Regions from separate parts of the Homo sapiens genome. Here regions 1 and 3 are each linked to region 2. Evidence: promoter capture Hi-C in 16 types of primary human blood cells and fetal thymus (Javierre and others, 2016). All regions are on one chromosome and are shown on one strand. The core of a region is centred on a gene start or on the middle of the fragment in contact, and the rest is flanking DNA. Distances in the headings are between cores, read along the strand shown. Region 1 overlaps TRIM38 (tripartite motif containing 38). Region 2 holds the start of C6orf62 (chromosome 6 open reading frame 62). Region 3 overlaps TRIM38 (tripartite motif containing 38).

The links. The method cuts DNA at HindIII sites, captures the fragments that hold promoters and counts their contacts. A CHiCAGO score of 5 or more calls a contact.
Region 1: a fragment that was not itself captured here is called in contact with the fragment with the promoter of C6orf62 in region 2 in 2 of 17 cell types (total B cells and non-activated CD4 T cells); the score reaches 8.6 in total B cells.
Region 3: a fragment that was not itself captured here is called in contact with the fragment with the promoter of C6orf62 in region 2 in 1 of 17 cell types (endothelial precursors); the score reaches 6.2 in endothelial precursors.

Annotation. Positions count from the first base shown.
Region 1 is chr6:25,965,602-25,969,470 of GRCh38, forward strand. It overlaps TRIM38 (tripartite motif containing 38), which reads left to right. Exons shown (of 8, transcript NM_006355.5): 3 at 734-1,332; 4 at 3,724-3,819. The coding sequence starts at 922. Among named protein-coding and RNA genes, the nearest start is that of TRIM38, 4.7 kb to the left of the region's middle. The HindIII fragment of the contact is 2,325 bases long and covers 552-2,876 here.
Region 2 is chr6:24,716,598-24,720,420 of GRCh38, forward strand. It overlaps C6orf62 (chromosome 6 open reading frame 62), which reads right to left and starts at 2,557. Exons shown (of 5, transcript NM_030939.5): 1 at 1,943-2,557. The coding sequence starts at 2,071. RefSeq lists an enhancer at 3,238-3,823 and a silencer at 3,601-3,770. The HindIII fragment of the contact is 3,349 bases long and covers 1,713-3,823 here.
Region 3 is chr6:25,983,419-25,987,408 of GRCh38, forward strand. TRIM38 (tripartite motif containing 38) reads left to right here. Exons shown (of 8, transcript NM_006355.5): 8 at 1-3,990. The coding sequence ends at 269. Among named protein-coding and RNA genes, the nearest start is that of LINC02980, 7.3 kb to the right of the region's middle. The HindIII fragment of the contact is 4,548 bases long and covers 1-3,766 here.

The DNA.
Region 1 (3,869 bases), core at 464-2,963, 1.2 Mb after region 2:
GGGCAAGAGAGCGAGAACTTGTCTTATAAGAAAAGAAAAAGAGGCTGGGCACGGTGGCTCATGCCTGTAATCCTGGCACTTTGGGAGGCTGAGGCGGGTGGATCACAAGGTCAAGAGATCGAGCCAACCAACATGGTGAAACCCCATCTCTACTAAAAATACAAAAATTAGCTGGGCGTAGTGGTGCACACCTGTAGACCCAGCTACTACTCGGGAGGCTGAGGCAGGAGAATCGCTTGAACCCGGGAGGCGGAGGTGCAGTGAGCCGAGATAGCGTCACTGCACTCCAGCCTGGGTGACAGAGTGAGACTCCGTCTCATTAAAAAAAAAAAAAAAAGTTAGAAGACTGAGAAAAGAAAAATAATGAAATAATTTAGAGCAGTCTGAGCTATGTGAGGTATGCAAAATTTATCAGGACAAGTGAGGCAGGAGTATAGGTCTTCAGTTAAGACCCCATGTTTAAAAGCATTTTGTTCCTGACTGGCTGCCTCATCTATTACCTACATATTCCCGAGATTTGTAATACAAAGAACAATGTATAGCCAGTCAAAAGCTTATGCTATTTTAATGTAAATTCTTGGCAAACAACTTTAAAACTGCTTTAAAACTGCTTTTTTTCCTCTAAACAACCACTTGTAACTGCTTGCTAATGAGGGCAACTTGAAACTCTGCACTTGGGTTGCAGTTCTCAAACGTGGCCCAAACAACCTCAGCCTCAACTTCTTCCTTTTAGGTCCTCTTTTCTTCAATACAAAATGAGATAATAGGGGTTGGAAGGAAAACCTTCAAGACCTATGGAAGTCAGTTGCAGCCAGCTCATCACATAGAGGTGCAGGTGAGGTGTATTTTCATCACGGTGGAAAATTCTGGCTGCTTCATCTCCATCTCTAGAGCCAATATTGGAGCTTTTCAATAAAAGCTATGGCCTCAACCACCAGCACCAAGAAGATGATGGAGGAAGCCACCTGCTCCATCTGCCTGAGCCTGATGACGAACCCAGTAAGCATCAACTGTGGACACAGCTACTGCCACTTGTGTATAACAGACTTCTTTAAAAACCCAAGCCAAAAGCAACTGAGGCAGGAGACATTCTGCTGTCCCCAGTGTCGGGCTCCATTTCATATGGATAGCCTCCGACCCAACAAGCAGCTGGGAAGCCTCATTGAAGCCCTCAAAGAGACGGATCAAGAAATGTCATGTGAGGAACACGGAGAGCAGTTCCACCTGTTCTGCGAAGACGAGGGGCAGCTCATCTGCTGGCGCTGTGAGCGGGCACCACAGCACAAAGGGCACACCACAGCTCTTGTTGAAGACGTATGCCAGGGCTACAAGGTGAGTGTGTGGGCCCGGGAGCTTTGGTAAGTACCAAGTCTTATCCTGCTCCCCAGGAGCTGAGATGATTTAACTTGAAACCTAACATTATGACTTGGAAATACAGCTTTCATCATGTCATTCTTCTGAAAAATAGTTTATGATGATTTCTTGCTCAATTATCTAGACTGTCCATCCTGACCTTCAATGGGATGGTTGGACTCTTATCTCTATCCATTTGTGTTATGATGAATTTCTTTTTGCTTTAGAACAGGTTGTTCTCAAACCAAACACCCGCATTTTTTCTTGTTTCACACCATGAATATCATTTGAAAAACCACAATATGTAAAGCCATGCAGTAGGGCCTGAAAACAGGGAAGAAAGACCCATCACCTTTTAGGTATCTACAGTCTAGTAAAGAAAACAAACCATCAAAAATGTCTGCCTGGAGGTCCCTGGTTTTGGTGGTGGGGAGGGACATTTAGGGTAGAGAGTGGTTCATCTTAGAAGTAACTCCTGAAGGACACGTAAAAATTGAACACCTATTGGGGGATTTTCATTTGGGGAATGAAGGGTCAGTGACATTGAAAATATCACTCTGGTACCTCTACTTTTTTTTTTTTTTTTTTTTTTTTTTCCTGAGGTAGGGTCTTGCTCTGTATCCCAGGTTGGAGTACAATGGTGCAATCTCGGCTCACTGCAGCCTCAACCTTCTGGGGCTCAAGCAATCCTCCCACCTCAGCCTCCCAAGTAGCTAGGACTACAGGGATGCCCCACCATACCTGGATAATTTTTTTATTTTTTGTAGAGACATGGTCTGCCTTTCTTGCTTATACTGGCCTCAAACCCCTGGTCTCCCTCCCATCTCAGCCTCCCAAAATGCTGGGATTAGAGGCATGAACCACTGTGCCCAGCTACTGTGGCATGTCTATGATAAAAGGAATATCAAGGAGTAAAATTCAAACTATCCGTATAAGAAAGGGAGGAGAGGGCAGATTTTAAGCACGATTCAGGAAGAAGAGTCAAAGATTTGGAAATGCTTGGTTGTGGAAGGTGAAGCAGAGGGAGAGGTTTTGTGTACCATCCAGATTTCTTGCCAGAAAGCATATTAAGGAAGGTGGGACTTTGCTGTTGGCAGCATGGAGGAATGGGCATAGTCCTGATGTCCTTTTTCCTTCTCTGTCCTGCCTAAATTTGAGGAAAATGTTGTCTCCAGTGTCAGGCTCCTTATTCTGTCCTCCATGAGGCAGAGGTGGTCTTGTATGAAGGCTCTAAGTCCTTCTAAGGACATGTCAATCATGACCACCACTCAGCTCATGGCAGCTCTTCCTTAAACTCCATGGAGCAGCTAATAACTGCGATGATCATATTCCCATTTGAATTACTTTTCCACCAAGTAGTAAGAAAAGGAACCAGCTTATGTTGAAATTGAGTTTTGTCACTTACTAGATGGGCAATTTTGGGCACGTTACTTAATGTCTTCACACCTTGGTTTCTCCATCTGTAAATGGGGATAATAGCAGTGTCCTCCCTCCCTAAAACACATACACAGGAGGTGGTTATAAGCTTTGAGGACATTAAAATATAGAATGCATAGAATAGCACTTGGCATATAGTAAGGACAATGTCATCTTTTGCTAAAACAGTTACATAGAACCTTTTCCTGAGAACACTCGAGAATGAATGAGTATACTTGTTGGGTTTACAGAGGACAGGAGACAATTCTTTCAGCATTGACTACAATTAGCAATTTGGGTCAGCTTCAAATCACTTTCAATAGAAATATGAGAAACTGTTTTGAAGAATAAGCTAAAAGCTTGACATGAATACTAAATCATTTTAAATTGGATTCATGATACCATTGTTCAAAAGATACCAGAATTCCCCTCTTCCATGAACTGTTTCTAATAACCAGCTGGCATCCTGATTTTTCCTGACTCATAAGACACAAAATTTCATGTGTGCCAAACACTGGTATTGGTTTTGCTTGGTTCAGCATGTTGTTTTACAAAATCTTTTAGATGATGATTACCTTGTTCTATATCCAACTTTTTCCTGGCAGGACTCTAGTGGTGGACATAGCTCAGGCTCTGGGTCAGCAGATGAGATTGCAATTGTTGCTCCACCACCTGGCAGTCATAGCCCTTTGGGCAAGTTATTTTACCCCTTTCTTAGTCTCATTTTCTACAGCACAGAAATGAAGTTTAAAATCCTACCAACTATTCAGGGTTGCCAAGGGGATCAGTATGTTCCTGCACATATAGCCTTTAGCATGCTCTCTAGCAAAAAACAATGAGGACTCTATAAATATTCACTATTATTCAAATATATCTTAGAAGATTGGGATTCCCCCTAGGTCCCTAATGAAGAGTCAAATTGAATAGGCTTCACTTATCAAATTTTTCCTTCAGGAAAAGCTCCAGAAAGCTGTGACAAAACTGAAGCAACTTGAAGACAGATGTACGGAGCAGAAGCTGTCCACAGCAATGCGAATAACTAAATGGAAAGTAAGAATCTGACTTCATTGATCTCAAGCTATTTTCCATTCTAGAGCTTA
Region 2 (3,823 bases), core at 1,307-3,806:
AAAATTAAAAATCTCACCAGTTTTAAAACAACGCTATTCAGACAAATGAATAGTTTTATTCCTTATATGGGCCAATTTCCATTACTTTCTCAATATTACATTATCAAAACCATCAATATTTCTGGTTTTTCTTTTTTTTTTTTGAGATGGAGTCTCACTGTGTTGCCCAGGCTAGAGGGCAGTGGCACCATCTTGGCTCACTTGCAACCTCTGCCTCCTGGGTTCGAGGGGATCTCCTGCCTCAGCCTCTCGAGTAGCTGGGATTACAGGCCTGCGCCACCACACCTGGCTAATTTTTGTATTTTCAGTAGAGACAGGGTTTCACCATTTGGCCAGGCTGGCCTTGAACTCCTGACCTCAAGTGATCCGCCTGCCTCAGCCTCCCAAAGTGCTGGGATTACAGCCGTGAGCCACTGCACCCAGCCAAAACCATCAATATTTGAAAGACTAAAAAGAAGCACACCAAGTTCTCTTTTAATACTACTCAAGACCAAGTACGCATCACTAAACTACTTTTTAAAATTCTGTACTATTAAGTATATATCATGAATTATTCAGGGCAACTGCATGGACACTGTCCATTCACAGAATAAAACCAGATTATCGTTGGTGTTAAAGAATTAAGATGGTGCAATTTGGGGCAATATATAGATTAAATACAAAGATATGGTCTCACTACTTATTATCTTGGATTTATTTAAAGAGCATACACTGTATCATCTTCAACTAAAATCCAATCTCATCAATTTTGAGTCAGCTTGTCAACAAAACAAAAGTGGAGATGTAAGTCCTTGATACCACCCAATCTTGGGACAGTCACTTCAAAAATTACTTAAAAATCACTTCACAATGCTATACTTCAGCAGCTAAGAATGTTCTTAAATACAAATAACCTTTTAGGAGTTAAGAGTTGGGGCTGTGCGTGGCAGCTCCTGCCTGTAATCCCAGCACTTTAAAATGCCATGACAGGAGGATCACTTTAGCCCAGGAGTTCAAGACTAGCCTGGGCAATACAGTGAGGCCTGTCTCAGCAACAAAAATAATAAGAGTTAAACAGTAGGGGGAAACCTGGAAAACTTCCAGATACTTAATAGATACCACACTAAGATTGTATTTCTGATCTGAAATTAGCTAACAATTTAAGCACCAAAATCCAAGTAGCACTTCCTTACATTCATAACCTCATCTTTGGTCAAATAAGCCTTGCTGATAATTTAAGAAAATGTTCATTTTAAGTTGCAAAAAATACTGCTCTTATCATCCCATCCTTGACTACTCACAACTTACTGTTTGCTATTTAACTGCGGAACTAATTCTGATTAAGACCTCCACCGCCCCTAAAAATGAAACTTCCTCTAGGTCATTTTGAGTTTTTAAAAACTGTACTTCTATACAAGGCAAAATGAACTCTAAGTAAAAAAGAAAATCACACTTCTAAACACAAATTAACCATTTCAGTATTTAATTGCTCCTAAAAGGTGTATTCTACTTCATTAAATGTAAGAGAAAAGGTTACCTACATTACGCAGTTTAAGAAACAGGATAAACTTTAGCATATAAACAGTCTGATTACAATTTCACACTTTCAACCATCTTATTTATACTCTACATTAGATAATCTTTAAATTCCATCATAAGGTTTCCCATGTTAACTCCATATAAAATTTTGTAATCTTGCCCACCCCATGTCAACTCAGTGTATACTACTACTAAGCTTCAGACTCAAATTTATTTCCAAACCAAAGAACGCTCAAGGGTCTTTTCGCATGCTGCAACTGCTCAATTCACAGAATCACCCCTAAGGGTGAAAAAACAGAGCATACAAAGCAGACTTTTTTTCAACCACTCTTTAACCTAATATTCATAATAATTTAAGAGTAACAAATAATATACACTTACAAAAATTACTTGTGCTAATTCACCATTAAGAACTTTAAATTACCTTCTCCTTGAATACAAAGGCAATATACATCTTGAAGTCAAACTGGTCAGCTAGAGATTCTTTTTTCTTTCTAAGCTGAGCACGTAGTCTGTTCAGAGCTTGTTTCTTCCGGGAGTTTGGGTCCCCCATTTTGAAATACAGGTGGTACTAAAGCCTTTGGAAATTGTCACTAAACTATGGGCACTTTTTCTTAAGACTCAAGTACAACAGAAACAAGTCATTTTTTTTCCTGCTAATATGATTGATTAGCGAAAATCACGACTATAACCCAAAAACTGCACCTTCTGTCAATATTAGCAGACTGTCATATTACAGGGTCAAGAAACAAAAGCTGCTGTCCAGTCATGTTTGGACAATAACGTTTGGGGTCAGACGGGAAAAAGGGAGGAAAGAAAGGAAAGAAAGAGGAGAAAATAACTAACTTTCTGGAAAACACATTTGGCTTAACTGCCAAAATAAAGGCTTTGCGGAGAAATGAAAAGCCTATAATCAGGATTTAGGTGTGCAATAAAACACAGCTGACACCAGACCAATCCCTAAAATCCATCCGGATTTTCCCCCCTTTTTAGAAAAGGGATTAAGGAACAGGGAGGGGGAAGTGTGATCCTTGCTTTCCAAAAAAAAAAAAAAAAAAAACTCACCAAAACCAAAACCAAAACCAAACACCAAAACAGGGTAGGTGAATGAAACTGAAATATCCAATTAGATTTTACCCAGCCAGCTCCATGGCTGTAGTACCTAATTCTTAGTTATTTCAGATTTCACTATTGCTATGTATTGTCAGTGCTTGTTATTGATTACACTTGGTGGTGAGCATAGAGAAAAGTGCAAAATCGGTAGAGAAGGAAAGGGAGAGGTACAGGGTTTCCCTGCAATCAACTACAGTGTATACCGGGGGCGGGCAGCTGTGGCCCAAAGGAGCCATGAGAAAAAACAGCGGAGTCATTACCAACTTCCCCATCACCCACATTTTCACCCTCAGGCGGCTGCTAACGCTGCTGCCAAGGAGAATCATGACGGCAGAAGGAAAAGGGGTATATAATACGGTATTAATTATTCCGGCTCTGTGGTTAGACCTGATTAATGCCCGGGTTCCCAACACCCCCAGCCTGCAACTAGTCCTACATTCCCCAAGGGAGACTTCCCTGTGGATCTGCCCCCGTTCAAAATGGTGGGGAGTGCGATTTATCTTCTTGTGAGCATTGCCGAGGCAAAGGTGGCGGGTTCTTCTCCCAAATCCCAGGCGGTGCCCGGAGACCACCTGCCTTCCACCCCCGCAGGTCCCACCCCCACCCCTTGCCTTCAGCGGCAGCGACTCACTCGCACCACGGGAGACACAGGATCACTCAGGTTTTCACTCATTTCATCGTGGAAACAATTCCCGCCCGGGTGGAGTGGGCGGGAGAGGGTAAATGGGAAGGTTCAGTGGGGGAAAAAAAGAAAATAATTGTGTTAATATTACTTCTAAAGTAAGCCCACCCACCCTCCCCCCAAAAAATTAAGTTCCCGGATTAGCTCTCTCTCACGTTGAACAGACCATGTTTCCAGAGTTTGGATTGTTTAGGGTGGGGTCGTTAGTTGTTTCCCGAGGGGCAGGGGGTGGAATTGAGGCAGCTAGGGCGGGGTGGGTGACGGGGAAATCCCCTCCCTGTCCCCGCGGAGCCCGGGACTCACGGACCGACTCTAGGGCGGGGTTTGGGCCCTCTAGCCGCAGCCTGCGGGCGGAGCGGTGGCGGCGGCGGAAGAGGCGGCGGCGGCGGGGGCGCTGCTGGTAGCACGGGCAGGAGCCATGTCAAGAGAAAACCACCAGCCAACTGAGCCCCTCCATCCCCGCTGCAGTGCGCACCGTGACTGGACCGCCCGCGCTGCTGCCGCCGCTCA
Region 3 (3,990 bases), core at 243-2,742, 1.3 Mb after region 2:
AGCCTCAGTCTGGATTCTGGACCCTCAGGCTGTGCAAAAAGAAAGGCTATGTAGCACTTACTTCTCCCCCAACTTCCCTTCATCTGCATGAGCAGCCCCTGCTTGTGGGAATTTTTCTGGACTATGAGGCCGGAGTTGTATCCTTTTATAACGGGAATACTGGCTGCCACATCTTTACTTTCCCGAAGGCTTCCTTCTCTGATACTCTCCGGCCCTATTTCCAGGTTTATCAATATTCTCCTTTGTTTCTGCCTCCCCCAGGTGACTAAGGAAAAGAGCAGAAGCTCCTTGGTTTAACCAGCACAGAGAAAATAATATAAATCCCATAAGGGCAGACGTTTGGTCTGTTTTCTTCGCTGTCATTTCCTTAGTAGTTAGACTAGTGCTGAGATTTTAGTGGATATATAATTGATTTATGTTGAATATATGGACTTAGCAACTAAAAATACCACAGATGGTTAACCTGGACTGGGGCAAAGCAAGATAATAGTGATGATCGTATGTTGCTGTCTCCATCCGTCTTTAATGGGTCAGGGCTTTGATTTCCAAGGGTCTTCAGGTGATGAGTAGGGGTACCCACAAGTCAGAAGGTCTGCGTTCTCCTAGTTTGTTTGCTGCCATTTGAACTCATGTAGGGAATGAAAGAAAGCTGCAATTATCCGCCAACTGCATTTAAAACAAAACAAAACAGAAAAATCAAAATAACATTGACTCTTCCAACCACTGACATGTTGTTTAATAATCTAAGCGGCAGTCCTGGAGGCTACCAGACTTACTGAGTTCTACCTGAGAAACAGCCAAGCAAAGTGTGAGAGAAGGGTTAAGACTGGCTTACAATGAGATGCTTCAAATGAAAAGGGAATTATGAGTAAAATTGAACTTTGATGGGGGATTCAGTTCTGGAAAAGAATTTGGTATTTTCCAGTCTGCTAGGACCAATTACCTTGAAATATTTTAAAATCTCAGTAAATAGTTATTGCTGAAATGGCTGTTGGCAGTTCTTATTATGATTCAGAGAAGAGCAAATAGACCTTAACTTCATTTTGAAAAAGACCAAATTACCATACCCGAGTGAGTAATGACAGGACTACAACTAAAACATAAACAACATTAATGATGACCATAAAAAGTCACAAAATTGCTAAATGTTATAATTTAGAGTTGACATAAAAATTGATGGCCAGGCATGGTGGCTCACGCCTGTAATCCCAGAACTATGTGAGGCTGAGGCAGGTGGATCACTTGAGGTCAGGAGTTCAACACCAGCCTGGCCAACATGGTGAAACCCTGTCTCTACTAAAAATACAAAAATTAGCCGGGCATGGTGGTAGGGGCCTGTAACCCAGCTACTCGTGAGGCCAAGGCAGGAGAATTGCTTGAGCCTGCAGCAGCTGCAGTAAGCCAAGATCATGCTGTGCCTCAAGGAAAAAAAAAATTAATGTTTACTGATATTTGTTGAAGTCCTACAACATCACCTCTGAGAATAGGAGAAATGAAGCAACAGTTGTGTCTAGATGTCAGAGGCATGGCTGGGCCTCCATCTCTGCCTAAGGGAGATATAAAAGAGTTCAAACTATTGCCCATGTTCCCCAGGGTCAGAAGTTCTAATTATGATGATAGAGGCTGGGTTGTAAGTAGTAAGTGAAGGGTAGCAGAATATGCCATCTTTGGCATAAGAAGTATTTTGAGTTGAAGACAATTGAGAAAAAAAATAGATTAAAAACAAACAAACACCTCTGCCCTCTCCCTATTTGCCTAAAAGCAGGATATGAAATTGTGAAGGTGTCTTCTTACTCGGGGAAGAACAAAAGTTAGTCACCAGAGACTTTAGACTCTTATCAGCCTGGACATAGCACCAGAGAAGTCTTTTTTTTTAAAAAAAAAAAAAAAAAAAGGGAAAGAAAAAGTTGCCTTCCCACAATTTACTGCACTAGAAACTCAAAGTCCTTTTCGTCTTCCTTGTCACTTAAAAAATGTATTCTTTTCTTAAAATGCTATATAAGCCCAAGTTCTAAATCCTCTTTTGAGTATTCATCTCAGTACTCCCCTGTGTTTGTACAATGCACATGCTTTGTTTCTGTCTTGTCAATCTGTCTTTTGTTAGTCTACTTGATAGGGCCACAGATGGAGAACCTAAGATGAATAGAAAAAAAAGATTTTTCTCCCCAACAGAAGGATTATCGCCAGTTGCACTTGTTCTATATACCCGTAGTCTCGGTATGCTGACCCAGACTTGGGTAATAGGACCCAGTGGGTAACCGAGGAACCCCACCTTTGTGCAGGATCAGTGAAGATGTAATCTGGATATTCATAAGCTCTTCTCTACCTCTTGGCATCCCACAGTCCTGTGTTAATGTAAGTGTGGTCTTCCCCAGAAAGGGGAGGCCTCCCTAACATTGTTAAAGCCTAGCATATGCTGCTTAGAGGAAATTCTATATCCCTAAGCACTTAGATTGCTGAATAAGAAAGAATGATAATAAAATAAACAATTAAATAAAAGTTTTAAAAAATGAATAAAATAAACCTGTGGAAACTATAAGGAAGGCCAGAAGAAATATAAAATTGGAGATTAATTGGGGTGCAGGAAAGTTATGGAAAGAATATAAGTCCTGCTAGATAAATCATTAGCTATTTTAATAAAGAATACAGAAGAAAATAGGAACAAAAGAATATATACTGGAATAATTTTGAGAGTAATTTGAAGAATTAGATGCAAATAAATTTGAAAACCTTTAAAAAGAAACCAATGGCCTAACTGACCCAAGAAGGGAAAGAAAATCTAAACAGACTGATAAATACAAAATGAAATTCAGACACTTACAGAGCAGCCAGGCATGGTGGCTCACACCTGTAATCCTGTCACTTTGGGAGGCTGAGATGGGAGGATCACTTGAGGCTAGGAGTTTGAGACTAGCCTGGGCAAGGCTCCCATCTCTAAAAGAAAAGAAATTAGCTGGGCATGGTGGCATGTGCCTTAGTTTCAGCTACTCAGGAGGCTGAGACGAGGATTGCTTGAGCCTAGGAGGGCAAGGCTGCAGTGAGCCATGGTCATGCCACTGAATTCCAGCCTAAGTGACAGAGCAAGACCTTGTCTCAAAAAAAAAAAAAAAAAAAGTTACAGAGCTCCAACTAAATAATGTGGGGAACAAAAGAAAAAAGAAGATGATTTTATGGCTGATTTTTTTTTTAAGGAAAAGCAATTCATGTACCCTTGAAGATTAGATTAAGTTCTATAAAATAGCCCAAAATGACAGTGGCTGAAACAAGTTTATTTCTCTCCCATTTAAAGCAAGTCTAGATGTGGAAGTCTGGGAAGCCCAGAAAATCCAGGTCTTGTTTGTGTATGGAAACTCCAGAAAATCACAGATTCCTTCCAGCCACCCCTCAATTACCCCTGGGATCCAAGAGAGCCACTAAAGTTCCAGCCATCATACTCACAACCCAAGTTGTAGGATGGAAAAAAGGACACAAAAGTAGGGTGAAGAGCATGTGTGCAACAGCTCTCTTTTACTCTAGTGTCCTAAAACCTATCATAAAACCTTTGGCTTGCCTTGCATTAGCCAGAATTTAGTACATGGCCACACTTAAGAAGTCAGAAAGATTAGCTTTTTTTCCAGGGTAGTTGGCTGAAAATCAGGAGTTCTCATATTAAAAAACAGAGAAGGGACATCGAATAGATGACCAACAATCTCCTTCACACTCATACTATTTAAACTGTCCTAGTCAATGACCAAAAAAGAAAAGCCTACAAACTCATTGATATAAAAGCTTAACAAAGGTACTCCCCGCCCCCCGCCCGCCACACACCATCCCCAAAAGGAAATTTCTAATCCAATTAACAGTCTTAGGTTGGGCTGCTGAAACAAAATACCACAGCCTGAGTGACTTAAACAACGACAATTTATCTCTCACTGTTCTGAGGTCTGAGTTGATTCTTTGTGAAGGCCCTTTCCTAGCTTGCAGATGGCTACCTTCCTGCTATGTCTTCAC